Linked DNA regions of Homo sapiens: region 2 is linked to region 1. The links are contacts of gene promoters, found by promoter capture Hi-C in blood cells and fetal thymus (Javierre and others, 2016). All regions are on one chromosome and are shown on one strand. The core of a region is centred on a gene start or on the middle of the fragment in contact, and the rest is flanking DNA. Distances in the headings are between cores, read along the strand shown. Region 1 holds the start of PA2G4 (proliferation-associated 2G4). Region 2 overlaps SARNP (SAP domain containing ribonucleoprotein).

What was found. Contacts are between HindIII fragments. The CHiCAGO score rates a contact against its expected background, and 5 or more counts as called.
Region 2: a fragment that was not itself captured here is called in contact with the fragment with the promoter of PA2G4 in region 1 in 2 of 17 cell types (naive CD8 T cells and erythroblasts); the score reaches 6.5 in naive CD8 T cells.

The regions. Positions count from the first base shown.
Region 1 is chr12:56,102,675-56,109,798 of GRCh38, forward strand. PA2G4 (proliferation-associated 2G4) reads left to right here and starts at 1,885. Exons shown (of 13, transcript NM_006191.3): 1 at 1,885-2,151; 2 at 3,914-4,042; 3 at 4,316-4,421; 4 at 4,513-4,582; 5 at 4,847-4,939; 6 at 6,556-6,619. The coding sequence starts at 2,064. It overlaps ERBB3 (erb-b2 receptor tyrosine kinase 3), which reads left to right. Exons shown (of 28, transcript NM_001982.4): 28 at 1-831. It overlaps LOC105369782 (a long non-coding RNA gene), which reads right to left and starts at 1,745. Exons shown (of 2, transcript XR_944995.4): 1 at 1,614-1,745; 2 at 1,140-1,244. RefSeq lists enhancers at 1,580-1,929, 1,940-2,159. The HindIII fragment of the contact is 2,269 bases long and covers 680-2,948 here.
Region 2 is chr12:55,791,466-55,798,377 of GRCh38, forward strand. SARNP (SAP domain containing ribonucleoprotein) reads right to left here. Exons shown (of 11, transcript NM_033082.4): 5 at 4,560-4,611; 6 at 3,342-3,415; 7 at 2,894-2,922. Among named protein-coding and RNA genes, the nearest start is that of SARNP, 23 kb to the right of the region's middle. RefSeq lists an enhancer at 6,754-6,912. The HindIII fragment of the contact is 2,580 bases long and covers 2,236-4,815 here.

The DNA of each region.
Region 1 (7,124 bases), core at 635-3,134:
TACACAAAGGGAAGTCGGGCATGGTGGCTCATGCCTGTAATCTCAGCACTTTGGGAGGCTGAGGCAGAAGGATTACCTGAGGCAAGGAGTTTGAGACCAGCTTAGCCAACATAGTAAGACCCCCATCTCTTTAAAAAAAAAAAAAAAAAAAAAAAAAAAACTTTAGAACTGGGTGCAGTGGCTCATGCCTGTAATCCCAGCCAGCACTTTGGGAGGCTGAGATGGGAAGATCACTTGAGCCCAGAATTAGAGATAAGCCTATGGAAACATAGCAAGACACTGTCTCTACAGGGGAAAAAAAAAAAAGAAACTGAGCCTTAAAGAGATGAAATAAATTAAGCAGTAGATCCAGGATGCAAAATCCTCCCAATTCCTGTGCATGTGCTCTTATTGTAAGGTGCCAAGAAAAACTGATTTAAGTTACAGCCCTTGTTTAAGGGGCACTGTTTCTTGTTTTTGCACTGAATCAAGTCTAACCCCAACAGCCACATCCTCCTATACCTAGACATCTCATCTCAGGAAGTGGTGGTGGGGGTAGTCAGAAGGAAAAATAACTGGACATCTTTGTGTAAACCATAATCCACATGTGCCGTAAATGATCTTCACTCCTTATCCGAGGGCAAATTCACAAGGATCCCCAAGATCCACTTTTAGAAGCCATTCTCATCCAGCAGTGAGAAGCTTCCAGGTAGGACAGAAAAAAGATCCAGCTTCAGCTGCACACCTCTGTCCCCTTGGATGGGGAACTAAGGGAAAACGTCTGTTGTATCACTGAAGTTTTTTGTTTTGTTTTTATACGTGTCTGAATAAAAATGCCAAAGTTTTTTTTCAGCTTCCTGTCTGTCAAATGAAGACATTTCGTATGTTAGATAAGAGATCTGCTCCTCAGCAGTGGATACTCACCTTTCTGTGTTCTGACAGTGCTACTCTGTCCCATGCAGCTTTCTCTAGTCCTACTATTACTTCTATTTCTTTAGAACAACCATAGCGCATAGTCCTTTTCATTAAGGGTTTTAGTAGGAATCTACAAGGCAACCAATTGGGAATAACAAAAAGAACCTACGTGCTTTAGGACTTATAAAAAGCCCTATAAGCCCTCCTTCAGAGGCCAAACACTGAAACCTCCAGATGCTTCTGAATTCATTATCTTAGAAAAGTCATCAAATCTTTTTATTTTTTCACGGTAAGAACTCTCAACAAACATGTCTTTCTGAACACTTCCCTTAGGTGCTCCATCCAGGTGCCTGTTATTGGAACAATAAAGTCATGTTACTTCATTAGGAGTCCGGCCTCTAGATTGCGAGGCCTTTAAATGGATGATCCCTCCGGTGTCTGGCTGCCCAGTTAGCCCCCGTTACCAGCACCCTTGGTCTTCTTCCACCTGTCTGCCCCTCCCTGTTCTCCCAGCTTCGGAGGACGACTGGACCGGCTGGGCGGGTTTCGCCAGCCGACCCAGGGATCCGAAGAAGGGCGCACCCAGCCTCCCCGACCTAGGTGTAGACACTGCCCACCCGCTGCGGCTCCACTCTACTCCACCCCTGCCCGCTCGACTTTAAACCTATTTCCCCGCCGTAGCTCCGCCCCTCTCCCCTCAGCCCGCCCCTCTCTGTTACTGGCTCTCGCTCAGCGTTCTCGGTGGAAGTGGTTTTTCCGGGAGAGACCACGCTTCCCCTCAAGCTCCCCAACGGCTCCGCCTTCCCGCCGGAGCCTGACCCTTCCCAGAGTGCCCGGCGATTCCGGCGTGCGAGGCCCTTGGAGGGCAAGGCCCCAGGGCCTGGCTTAGGAGCGCGAGAGGCAGGCTGGGAATTGTAGTTCGAAGGCCCTCGAGAGCGGCTAGAGTCTGGCGGCCGAGAGGACTAGTTGTCCCAGCGTGCCCTGCGCCTCAGCCCGCGCGCTCGCAGCTTCTCGCTCTCGCCTGCCTGCCCGCTCCCTTGCTTGCTCGCGCTTTCGCTCGCCCTCTCCTCGAGGATCGAGGGGACTCTGACCACAGCCTGTGGCTGGGAAGGGAGACAGAGGCGGCGGCGGCTCAGGGGAAACGAGGCTGCAGTGGTGGTAGTAGGAAGATGTCGGGCGAGGACGAGCAACAGGAGCAAACTATCGCTGAGGACCTGGTCGTGACCAAGTATAAGATGGGGGGCGACATCGCCAACAGTGAGTGCGGCCTCGGGGGTCGGGGAATCAAGGCTGATAGGGAAAGGTAACAGGCTGGCCCGGAAGGGGCTGGAGCGGAGGGGTCATGCGGACTGAGCTACTGAGGGGCCCGCACCGGTCCGCTGGGCACGGCGTGGTGGGAAGACCCGGTGTCGCGCCTGGGACCTGAGCGGGCAGGCCCAGGCTGAAGTCTATGGAGGTGCGGGTCGGCGACCAGGATGAGCGCAGAGAGGGGACCCTGGCAGGCTCCGACCCGAGGCCGTTTGTTAGGAGGCAAGACGTGTTTTCTCTTGTTCCTATCCTTCATTCCCGATTATTGCTTCCTCTGATTCTGGCAGCGGCGAGGCCACCTCGAAAAGGAAGCGCCCAGCTATTGGCGACAGAAGTGCCCCTCTGTTTTTGTAGCGTCTCCGGGGCGTCAGGAGCCAAGCCGGCACGTGTTGCTGGGTCCCATTGCGGATGGCTGGCCCCCTTCTTACTCCGCTAGTGTCCCTGACACCAGCTTCCCCACCACCAGCTTCCCCACCACGTGCTTTGCTGGAGCCTTTCCTTCTTTACTTCAGCTCTTACCCTGGTGGGGGCCCCCTTCTACCTTGGGCCAGCTAAGGAGACCGTTGGAGAGCACTCCTGGAGCTTCTAATGCAAGTCTTGGAGATATATATGGCTTTTCTTGAAGTTACTCATTACTACCACCTTTCCAATCTGTGCAGATAGTCTTAGTTAGCATTCACATTTGTTGTTCTCAGTGACTTGACAACTCAAATGTTTTGGGGTCTCCGTCTTATCCCAACTAGGCAAGCTTGTGAACATTACTGGAAAAGGGAGGACTGATTTTAGGATTTTCACAAGTCATCCTTACTCCAGGTGTGCTCTGACGATCTCAGCAGTTGCCTGTCACTCTAGGCAGATGCCACTTTCTCTTTTCTCTCTTTCCAGTTAGCCTTTCCATTTTATTCCAGTTAGGGAGATACAAACTGCTTGTCATTGTGCTTTTAAATGGTTTTAACAGCAAAGATGGTGGGGAACAGGTATTTAGGATGCCTCCCGTCCTGTGGGTGAAAATCTGAGTTTTACCAGCTTTCAAAGAATCACCAAAACTGAGATACCAAAAGTCAAACCTGTGCTTTATATCACAGTGGACATTTAGTATCGTACCCTGGTTTTTGGTGCCTTTTAGTATTTGAGATACTAGTGGTTTGAATCAGAAAATCTCTTACAGTTTATAACTTTGGCCTCATATTTCTTTTAGATAAGCCATGATCCCCCGAAATGAAACCCAGGGACCTTAGATTAAGTTTCCTTGGCTTATGCACTTGTTTATGAGGAAATAAGTCTATATAGATTGAGATTCCTAACACCTAATTAGAGTGTCTGAGAAAGGAATGCGGTAACATTTAACAGTGCATCGGCTTCGAGTCAGCAATTCTGTCTACCTTCTTGTCCCTGATGCCTATAAATTTCATCTAGTCTTTGCGTGTATGTGGGGATACCATGGCAAGAACCCTCTGAAGTTCATAACTCTGTCCTGTCACACCAAAGGTAGCATCTTTGGAAAGTCTGAGGCCTTGCCTAGGGAGATGGATTGTATATACCCAGTTGTCACATAATGTAAGGAAGAGAAGGGAATGTTGACCTTTCAGCCTCAGGGCAATGGCACCAGGGAGTATTATGGAAACTCTTAAATTCAACTTCCAGGTATTCCTTGGGTGGTAACTAGACAATGAATACATACAAGGCTGACATGATGGGATTCTGTCCTCAGGGGTACTTCGGTCCTTGGTGGAAGCATCTAGCTCAGGTGTGTCGGTACTGAGCCTGTGTGAGAAAGGTGATGCCATGATTATGGAAGAAACAGGGAAAATCTTCAAGAAAGAAAAGGAAATGAAGAAAGGTAAAAAAAAAAAATCCCTCACTAATTTTCCGTTTGACCCTTATTTGGTCCTATATGTTTTTATTTTTTTCACTGTAATGACGCAGTCCCCACCCCAGCTCTGGCTGAGGTATTTGGAAATTTGGAATGGCAAGTGGGATACAAGCAGTTTCCTACCTAATCCAAACTGATGAAACTTAAGCAAGACCCTGAAAAAATCCTTCTACATTTCTGAAGGGCACTAGGGCTCCCGGGAGACAGCAAGGCAGTAGGCTGATGATTCTTTCTTTACAGGTATTGCTTTTCCCACCAGCATTTCGGTAAATAACTGTGTATGTCACTTCTCCCCTTTGAAGAGCGACCAGGATTATATTCTCAAGGAAGGTGACTTGGTAAAAATGTAAGGTTAAACCGTTTTAAAGCATTTTTCTTTTTTTAAAGCATTTACAAAATGCCAGTTCCTAATGCAGTACTCTGATCTTGCCTTTCAGTGACCTTGGGGTCCATGTGGATGGCTTCATCGCTAATGTAGCTCACACTTTTGTGGTTGATGTAGCTCAGGTAGGTGGCCTGCTTTTGATCTCTGTTTAGCCTTGGGGTAGAGGGAATGCACTGCCATTTGCTTCTTATCCCCACCCCCAATCACCACGTAAGTTGAGAGAGTCTCTAGAGAAGCAAAAGGAGAAAGGTTTTTGTTGTTGTTGTTGTTTTTACCCTCCTGTTCATTGGCTGGTCTTCGCATATGGGCTCACAGATATTAACCAGATAGCCAGCTGAGTTAACAGACTTTCCAGGAAGATACTGATTGCATGTCCTTATCTACAGGGGACCCAAGTAACAGGGAGGAAAGCAGATGTTATTAAGGCAGCTCACCTTTGTGCTGAAGCTGCCCTACGCCTGGTCAAACCTGGAAATCAGGTAAGCTATTTTATCCAATTCCAAAGCTCGTTTGAACCAAAGATGCATTAGGCACCTATAGCTACTCTATATGAAACTACCAACCTCCCCTACAGACCCCTTATAAAACAGCTTTTTAAAATTAGCTATATTTAGCTGGGCACAGTGACTCACATCTGTAATCCCATCACTTTGGGGGGCCAAGGTAGGAGGATAGCTTGAGGCTGGGAGTTCAAGACCAGCCTGGGAAACATGGTGAAACCCCATTTCTACAAAAAATACAAAAATTAGCTGGGCGTGGTAACATGTGCCTGTATTCCCAGCTTCCAGGGAGGCTGAGGTGGGAGAATCACCTGAGCCTGGGAGATTGAGGCTGTGCTGAGCTATGATCATGCCACTGCACTCCAGCCTGGGCAACAATGAAACCCTGTCTCACAAAAGAAAAAGGAAAAATAAGCATTTGCTGTCCCCACAAAACAGATTAGAATGCCAGGTAAAAAAGGATAAACACTGGACTTAATATTATAGGCATGTGGTGGCACATGCCTGTAATCCCAGCACTTTGGGAGGCCAAGGTGGGAGGATTGCTTGAACCCAGGCATTTGAGACCAGCTTGGGAAACATAGCGAGACCCGTCTACAAAAAGAAAAAAGAAAACCCAGGTTTATGACCAAGTTCTTTCACTTAACACTCATTTAACCTGGGGCAAATCATTTAACCTGAGACTCAGTTTCCTTGTCTTCTAGATTGGGATATACATCTGCCCTGTTCACATGCAAAATTTATTGAGTTAGACCATCTTTGTGAAAGCACTGGGTAAAATGATATGCAGTTACAGCTGGTCCTCAGCTTGATGCTACATTCAGTAGAAGCTATACTTTGAGTACCCATACAACCATTCTGTTTTTCATTTTCCATATAGTATTTAGTAAATTACATGAGATATTCAACACTAATATAAAATAGGCATGTGTTAGATAATTCTGCCCAACTGTAGGATAATGTTTTTTAAGTGCTCTGAGCACATTTAACATAGGCTAGGCTGTGATGTTAGGTAGGTTAGGGGTATTAAATGCATTTTTGACTTAGTGATATTTTCAACTTATGAGTTTTTTGGAGATGTAACCCCATTGCAAGTTGGGGAGCATCTGTATAAAGTATTTTTAGATTGTAGGGATAATCAAGCTATGAAATGAAAAACCAGTGAATGACAATCATTGGGGCTTGATGGAGGATATTAGAACGCTCAGTTCTGCCAGGTGCAATGGCTCATGCCTGTAATCCCAGCACTTTGGGAGGCTGAGGTGGGCAGATCACGAGGTCAGGAGATCGAGACCATCCTGGCCAACATGGTGAAACCCCGTCTCTTCTAAAAATACAAAAATTAGCTGGGCGTGGTGTTGCGTGCCTGTAATCCCAGCTACTCAGGAGGCTGAGGCAGGAGAATAGCTTGAACCCGGGAGGCAGAGATTGCAGTGAGCCAAGATCACGCCACTGCACTCCAGCCTGGTGACAAAGCCAGACTCCATCTCAAAAAAAAAAAAAAAAACGCTCAGTTCTTTTATGCTTCTTATTCTCATTGTAGAGAACTTATTAGCTCCTGATATCTCACCTTTCATTTGATGTTGTACTTCTAGAACACACAAGTGACAGAAGCCTGGAACAAAGTTGCCCACTCATTTAACTGCACGCCAATAGAAGGTGAGAACAGATAACAGGGTTGAGGGTCTAAGAATGAGTGGCTTTGCCAGGTGCGGTGGCTCACGCCTGTAATCCCAGAACTTTGGGAGGCTGAGGTGGGCGGATCACCTGAGGTCAGGAGTTTGAGACTAGCCTGGCCAACATGGTGAAACCCCGTCTCTACTAAAAATATAAAAATTAGCTGGGCGTGGTGGTGGGTGCCTGTAATCCCAGCTACTTGGGAGGCTAAGGCGAGATAATCGCTTGAACCCGGGAGGAGGAGGTTGCAGTGAGCCAAGATTGCGCCACTGCACTCCAGTCTGGGCAATAAGAGCGAAACTCCATCTCCTCCATCTCAAAAAAAAAAAAAAAAAGAATGAGTGGCTTTGCAGAATTGAGGCTTTTGCTCCCTTGAAGATCTATCCTGGCTATAACCCAGTCTAAGCCAGAAATCTCAGAGCCCTGTGTTTCCATAACCAGGTAGTTGTCTCACTGCCTACCACTTCAAACTACTGAAGTGGGTGGA
Region 2 (6,912 bases), core at 2,276-4,775, 310 kb before region 1:
GGGTGGATCACCTGAGGTCAGGACTTGTAGACCAGCCTGACCAATATGGTGAAATCCCATCTCTACTACAAATACAAAAATCAGCCAGGCGTGGTGGCGTACACCTGTAGTCCCAGCTACTCGGGAGGCTGAGACAGGAGAATTGCTTGAACCCAGAAGGCAGAGGCTGCAGTGAGCTGAGATGGCGCCACTGTGCTCCAGCCTGGGCGACAGAGCAAGACTCCATCTCAAAAAAGAAAAAAAGAAAAAAAGAGAAAAAAAGAAATTATGGCTCCTTAAGGCCAATTTTCTGTCCTGAAATTATCACCAAGAAACTAGCCAATAATTATTTACTTCAAACTTTTCAGGATTTCATTCAAAAAAACAGTGCTTGCTTTTAAATGTTCCCAAATTCCGTTATTTTTTAGAGTTACTCTATAGTTCTAAGATGTCAGAATTATGAGTAACACTGAAACTGTATTTTTTATCAGGTTCCCTTTTCAGACTATTAATTTTAACTATTATCTTTCTTCAAATAGCATTTTAGCCTTGCACCTGTAGTCCCAGTTACTCAGGAGGCTGAGGGAGGATTGCTTGAGCCCAGGAGCTCAAGTCCAGCCTGGGCAATATAGTGAAACCCTGTCTCTTAAAAAAAATAAAAAAGCACCACGTTCTATAATTTCTGTTGTATCTTCACCAATTATATCTCTCTTGATGCAACTAAGAGCCAGAAAAAAAATTTTTTTTTTCTAAAACACTTAGTGATAGCGGCCAGAATTTTTCTGTCTTTTTAAAAGCACAGCAAAACACTACAAGAAGATCTCTGGGGGACATTTTCTTACTTAAAACTACTGACGAGTCACAGGGAAAACTGGATTGAATTGGAAGACTACATTTAAGTTTTAAGTTCCTGAGAAAAGGGGCTATGTTCTTTTTGTTTTTTTGAGAAAAGAGTCTCATTCTGTCCCCCAGGCTGGAGTACAGTGGAGCAATCTCTGCTCACTGCAAGCTCCGCTTCCCACGTTCAAGCACTTCTCCTGCCTCAGCCTCCCAAATAGCTGGAATTACAGGCGCGCAACACCACACCCAGCTTTTTTTTTTTTTTTTTTTTTGTATTTTTAGTAGAGAAGGGTTTCGCCATGTTGGCCAGGCTGGTCTCAAACTCCTGACCTTAAGCAATCCACCTGCCTTGGCCTCCCAAAGTGCTGGGACTACAGGTGTGAACCACCGTGCCCAGCCTGTCCTTTTTTTAAATTCTGAGACAGGATCTTGCTCTGTCACCCAGGCTAGAGTGTCATGGCAAGATCACACTCACTGCCAGCCTTGACCTCCCAGGCTTAAGAGATACTCCCACCCCAGCGCCCCAAGTAGCTGGGACTACAAACACCTGCCACCATGTCTAGTTAATTTTTTAATTTTTTGTAGAAACAAGGTGTCACTTTGTTTCCCAAGCTAGTTTCCAACTCCTGGGTTCAACTGATCCTCCCGGCTTGGCATCCCAAAGTGCTGGGATTACAGGCATGAGCCACCATACCCAGCCGTTTCTTAAAAATAATAACTGTTTCAGGCTCGGCACACCTGTAATCCCACCATTTTGGGAGGCAGAGGTGAGTGGATCACTTGAGGTTAGGAGTTCAAGACCAGCCTGGCCAACACAGTGAAACCTGTCTCTACTAATAATACAAAAATTAGCTGGGTATGGTGTCACGCACCTGTGGTCCCAGCTACTCAGGAGGCTGAGGCAGGAAAATAGCTTGAACCTGGGAGGCAGAGGTTGCAGTGAACCAGATCACGTCCCTGCACTCCAGCATGGGTGACAGAGCAAGACTGTGTCTCAAAAAATAGTAATAATTTCCTCTAATTCATTACAAAAGTGATACATATTCATTGTATGGATTTTAATAACACAGACAAGCAAAAAGAAATAAATCATTCAAAATTCCACCAACCAGAGATAAGAGTATTAACAATTTAGAATACAGTCGTCCCTCCATTTCCTCAGGGGATTGGATCCAAACCCACCCCTCCAGCTGATACCAAAATCCACCACACTCAAGTCCTGCAGCAGATATAAGCTGCTCCTCCATATCTGCAGGTTTCACATCCCAAGAATACTGTATTTCTGAACCGCATTTGGTTATGGTGAACCCTCAGATACAGACAGCAAACTGTATTTATTGAAAAAAAAAAAAATCCAAGTATAAGTGGACCTGTGCAGTTCAAACCTTGCTGAAGTGTCTACTATGTATCCTTCCAAGCTTTTTTCCTATCTATACATGCACTCTTACATGACTAAAATGGGAACGTACTGTTAATATAATTTTGTAACTTTTTTCATTAATATCTCTGATAAATATCTTTCAATATTATTTCAGCACAGTAGTCTGCTATACCATGGCACACATTTAATAACTAATTCTCTGTTGTACAGTTGGTTGTTTCCAGTTATTGATCACTATAAATAATGCTGTGATAATCCCTGAGGCTAAGTCTTTATGCACATTCAAGACTATTTCCTTATACGTTCCTAGAAGTAAAACTGTTAAGGTAGAAGATATTCTTTTCCCTTTTATCACTTATAATAGCCAGTATAACACTAGATAGTATGCAATAATTTTATGCAGTTGAGACCCCAGAATAAGTAAGCAAAGTACTAGAGAAACTTCTTTGAAGATGTTCAAGAAAAGACAGACAAATGTTGGCACTTCCTATCCTCTCATAACATTCAGTATCTCTCTTAATTGCCCAGGAAGGCCTAAGTATAATTTTACCTAAAGCAGGAGATGAATGTTACAATCTCTTAAAGAGTTTCTACAGCTAGCAAATTTACCTTATTTTGGAGAAATAAAACCTGTTATACCAGAAAAGAAAGAATAAAAAGGTAACTTTCTCAGAAGTATCTCTGTACTCTTACCTTTTGTTGGAACTGAAGAAATCCCAAACCTGAAGAAGGAAAAACAAACTAAATTTTAGGAAGCTGTTCACACTCCTGGTTTGTCTGTCTCCGTGTCAAGTATACATATGACACTTCTTGCTTGTGATCTCAAGCCTTGCAATCATTAGCTAATTCTAACAACCCCATGAAAGAGGTTCAGAAATTAAGCTAAAAGGAAGCCTTATCAGAATTAGTAGTAGTCAGTTCCTGGCTTTAACTGTTACAAAAACCCTTCTCAATAAAGCTCAATTTATAGCTACTATAACCAAATCAGTAGACATGTTCTGAATAGGGTCAAAAAAGTGTTCATATCCTTCAGCAAGCCTCTATTCTACTTAAAATCAACAATTATACCTAAAAGCTAGGATCACACATCTTCATCTTTACAACACCCCTATCAGAGGCCCAAAAGGCTGGGGACACTCACCTAGCTGCCCGAGCAGCTTTCTTACTCTCCAAGCTCACAGGTACATTGAATCGTTCAGCCCTCTTCTGCATTCTCTAAGTAAAAATAGACAAAAGGGAGAAAAAAAAGTCAATTTATGGTTTAAGAAAGTCAGTCAGAGGTAGGTATCTTTAAAAAAAAAAAAAAAAAAAAAAAAAAGAGTCTCACTCTGTCCCCCAGCCTGGAGTGCAGTGGCATGATCTCGGCTCACTGCAACCTCAGCCTCCTGGGTTCGAGCGATTCTCGTGGCTCAGCCTCCTGAGTAGCTGGGATTACAGGACTGTGCCACTGTGCCCAGCTAATTTTTGTGCTTTTAGTAGAAATGAGATTTCACCATGATGGCCAGGCTGATATTGAACTCCTGGCCTCAAGTGAACTGCCCACCTCAGCCTCCTAAACTGCTGGGATTACAAGCGTGAGCCACCTGGCCCAGCCAAAGGTAGGTATCTTAAAAACATCAGAAGTAATTTCTTAGGGTCTAAACTGAAAATACTGACAATCCTAGAAGATATCAGGTTGTGTCCATGCTAGGACTTAACGGCCCTTCCCACAAAGCAAACAAAAAAAGACTATTACTAGATGCCCTCAAAAACAAAAGGGAGAAATAAAGTAAAACCTACATTATGCATGAAGCCAAGAAGTCAAAAGCTATGTTTGGCTGACCTTTGAAAAGTGATCAAAGGAATAGCTTGGTTCCAACACCAATGGTATTCTTTCAGTTAGAAATGAGGCAGCATTGTTTTATGCCATTCTAAAAGAGTTTAATAATTCTCTACTTTGCAAGTATGATACTGAACACAAGATCTCAAATGGAACCTGGTTTCACAGTCCTGCACCACAGAAACCAGAGAAATTTCAATCTCAGCTACTGGCCAGTAGCAACATAAGAGTCACATCTACCAATACATTTTCAAGGTACAATCCTCCTAAATCTAATCCTAGGTTTGAAAACATCTCAAAGAGAGTCACTGTTAAGACCATAATATTACATATAAAAAGACTACAACTTCAAGAATGACTACCCCTACGCCAGCCAAATATTTTCCAAAGAGTAGCTGGCAGTGAAACGTATCAACACCAAAATCTGCCAATACTGATTTTCTGCCTGTGAATAAATTTTAGAGGATGATGCAGATATAATAAAGGGTAAGAGGGAGAGAGAAATGTAGAGACTGTTCTACTAGGGAGCAGAATACCTACCTCAGTCTGTGGTATTTCAGATGTAATTTTCACCACTTTCTTCTCTGCTGCCCTAGAAAAGAAAGAGATTTTTTAAAATGAGAAAACTGATATTCTAAACCACAACCTCAGAAATGTGTAAGAATTCACCTGAGTCACCATTCTCTGCCCTATTATCTCTCTGCCACCCCCTAAGCCAAAGAAACATGAAGTCCACTAGAGCTTTGGTTCCTTTAACTGTCATCTATTGAGAGGAAAGAGTTCAAATAACAAACTAAGCTTCTTTAGCTAAAGTATAATAAAGAAATAAGGAAAGAAGTCTGGTTAAATATACTGGGCTGAAGGGAAACACTCAAAGGACACCAGAAACCATCTCATTTGCTTTTAGGAACTTTTCAATTTACTTTTATTTTTCTGAGACGGAGTTTTGCTCTTGTCGCCCAGGCTGGAGTGCAATGGCACGATCTCAGCTCACTGCAACCTCCACCTCCTGGGTTCAAGAGATTCTCCTGCCTCAACCTCCTGAGTAGCTGGAATTACAGGCACCTGCCACCACGCCGAGCTAATTTTTGTATTTTTAGTAGAGATAGGGTTTCACCATGTTGGCCAGGCTAGTCACGAACTCCTGGCCTCAAGTGATCCACCCACCTCGGCCTCCCAAAGTACTGGGATTACAGGCATCAGCCACCGAGCCCAGCCTTTAATTTACTTTTGAACTAATGAGTAACCCTCCAATCCTCCTTTAAGTACCACCTCCCAATGTTCATCACAACAATTAATAAGTACTCTACAAGGTCTGGTTTCCTTCTTTTAAAAATCCCTTATTTCTCCCATGGGGAATGTAGCTCTAGCTGGAACAGTCAAAGTGAAACAAATAAAAATGCCAAAGAAGGTAGGAAGAAAAAAGTCTAAGGGGAGTTTGAATTAGGAAAACATGGTAAGCTAGTGGTCAAAGGTTTAAGAGGAAACAAAAGAGGGGGGACCACAGGGGCGGGAGACAAAGTTCGGAAGTACCCACGATAAATGGAAGGGCATTAACCCTCCACCAAACAACTCCCATAAAACTGTGGGTCATAACCAGTCTCATTAAGGTCCCTCATTTAGAGACATGGGCAGCTTTTGTTCCAATATCCTGAACACTTTTCCCATTTGATGCCCTGAAAGGTAGTAATGGTTTAATGACATTTTCAGAGGAAGCAATTCTGGAATAAGAACTTACTCTCTTCCACCCTTTTATTGGAAATCCCTGGACTGAAGACAAGCAATGGGTGCCCCCTGCTGACTATAACGAAGTCCTACGATATGTAACCGCTTTAGCTGGTTGGGGGTTGGGAATCAAACTAGAAACAGGTATATTTTTGGAGAACTTCAGGCCAAACATGAAGAAGGGGATCTCCTTTTAAATAGTCAAGGAATCTAAACTAGCCCTGGCTATTCTGACGTTTAAAGAAATTTCTAAACGCTTCCCATTTCCTTGCCATCCTTCCCTAACCTTGTCTTATAATTTAGGCACAAAAGGCTAAAGTTTAATGTTTTACTTGAAATCCAATGCCATCAAGAAAGTAGTACTCTCCATCAACCCCAGTGTAATGACTTCCTCCCCATTACCATTCTGAAGCACAGTCAATGCAGTGCACATCATGGCAGAAAGGGAACCCCAGACGGGAAGTTTCCTTCCATTCTATTACAATTCCCTTAGGCAACTAAACTCAAGCGCAATAAATAAACATCGAATTCTGGGATGCATGGGAAATTTCCACTCTTCACTGAGAAATTTCTCTCCTACCCAATCACATAAACAACATTCCCTGAAATACAGAGACCCAGAATCTTTTTGTACATACTTCAGTCTAACCACAACTATCCTCTAAAAATCAAAAACGATCACCCCACCCACTTCAATTTCCTTGTTTCAAAATTCATTAATAGAATTAAAGCCCCCTGAACAGAATGCACATTTTAAATATTCTATGAATAATGAACTTCAAACTTTCGAACCTCTATTTTTTAACCCACAGAAGCCAATTATCATGGTATTCACTTGATCTTCTTTCTTGTTCCAGAAATCCCCATAACATTTCTATTTTAAAGCTATCTCACAAAGTCATTTTTTCAAGGCACTATATCTAATTATAAACATCTTATGATGGAAAGATAACTAAATGGCTTTAGAAAGTAGTATTTGATAGGCTGGAAAGTAGTATTTGATAGGCAGGTGATTACTGGCTCACACCTGTAATCCCAGCACTTTGGGAGGCCAAGGCAGGTGGATCGCTTTGAGCTCAAGAGTTTGAGACCAGCCTGGCAAACACGGCGAAACCCCATCTCTACAAAAAATACAAAAAAAGAGCTGGGTGTAGTGGCTCGTGCCTGT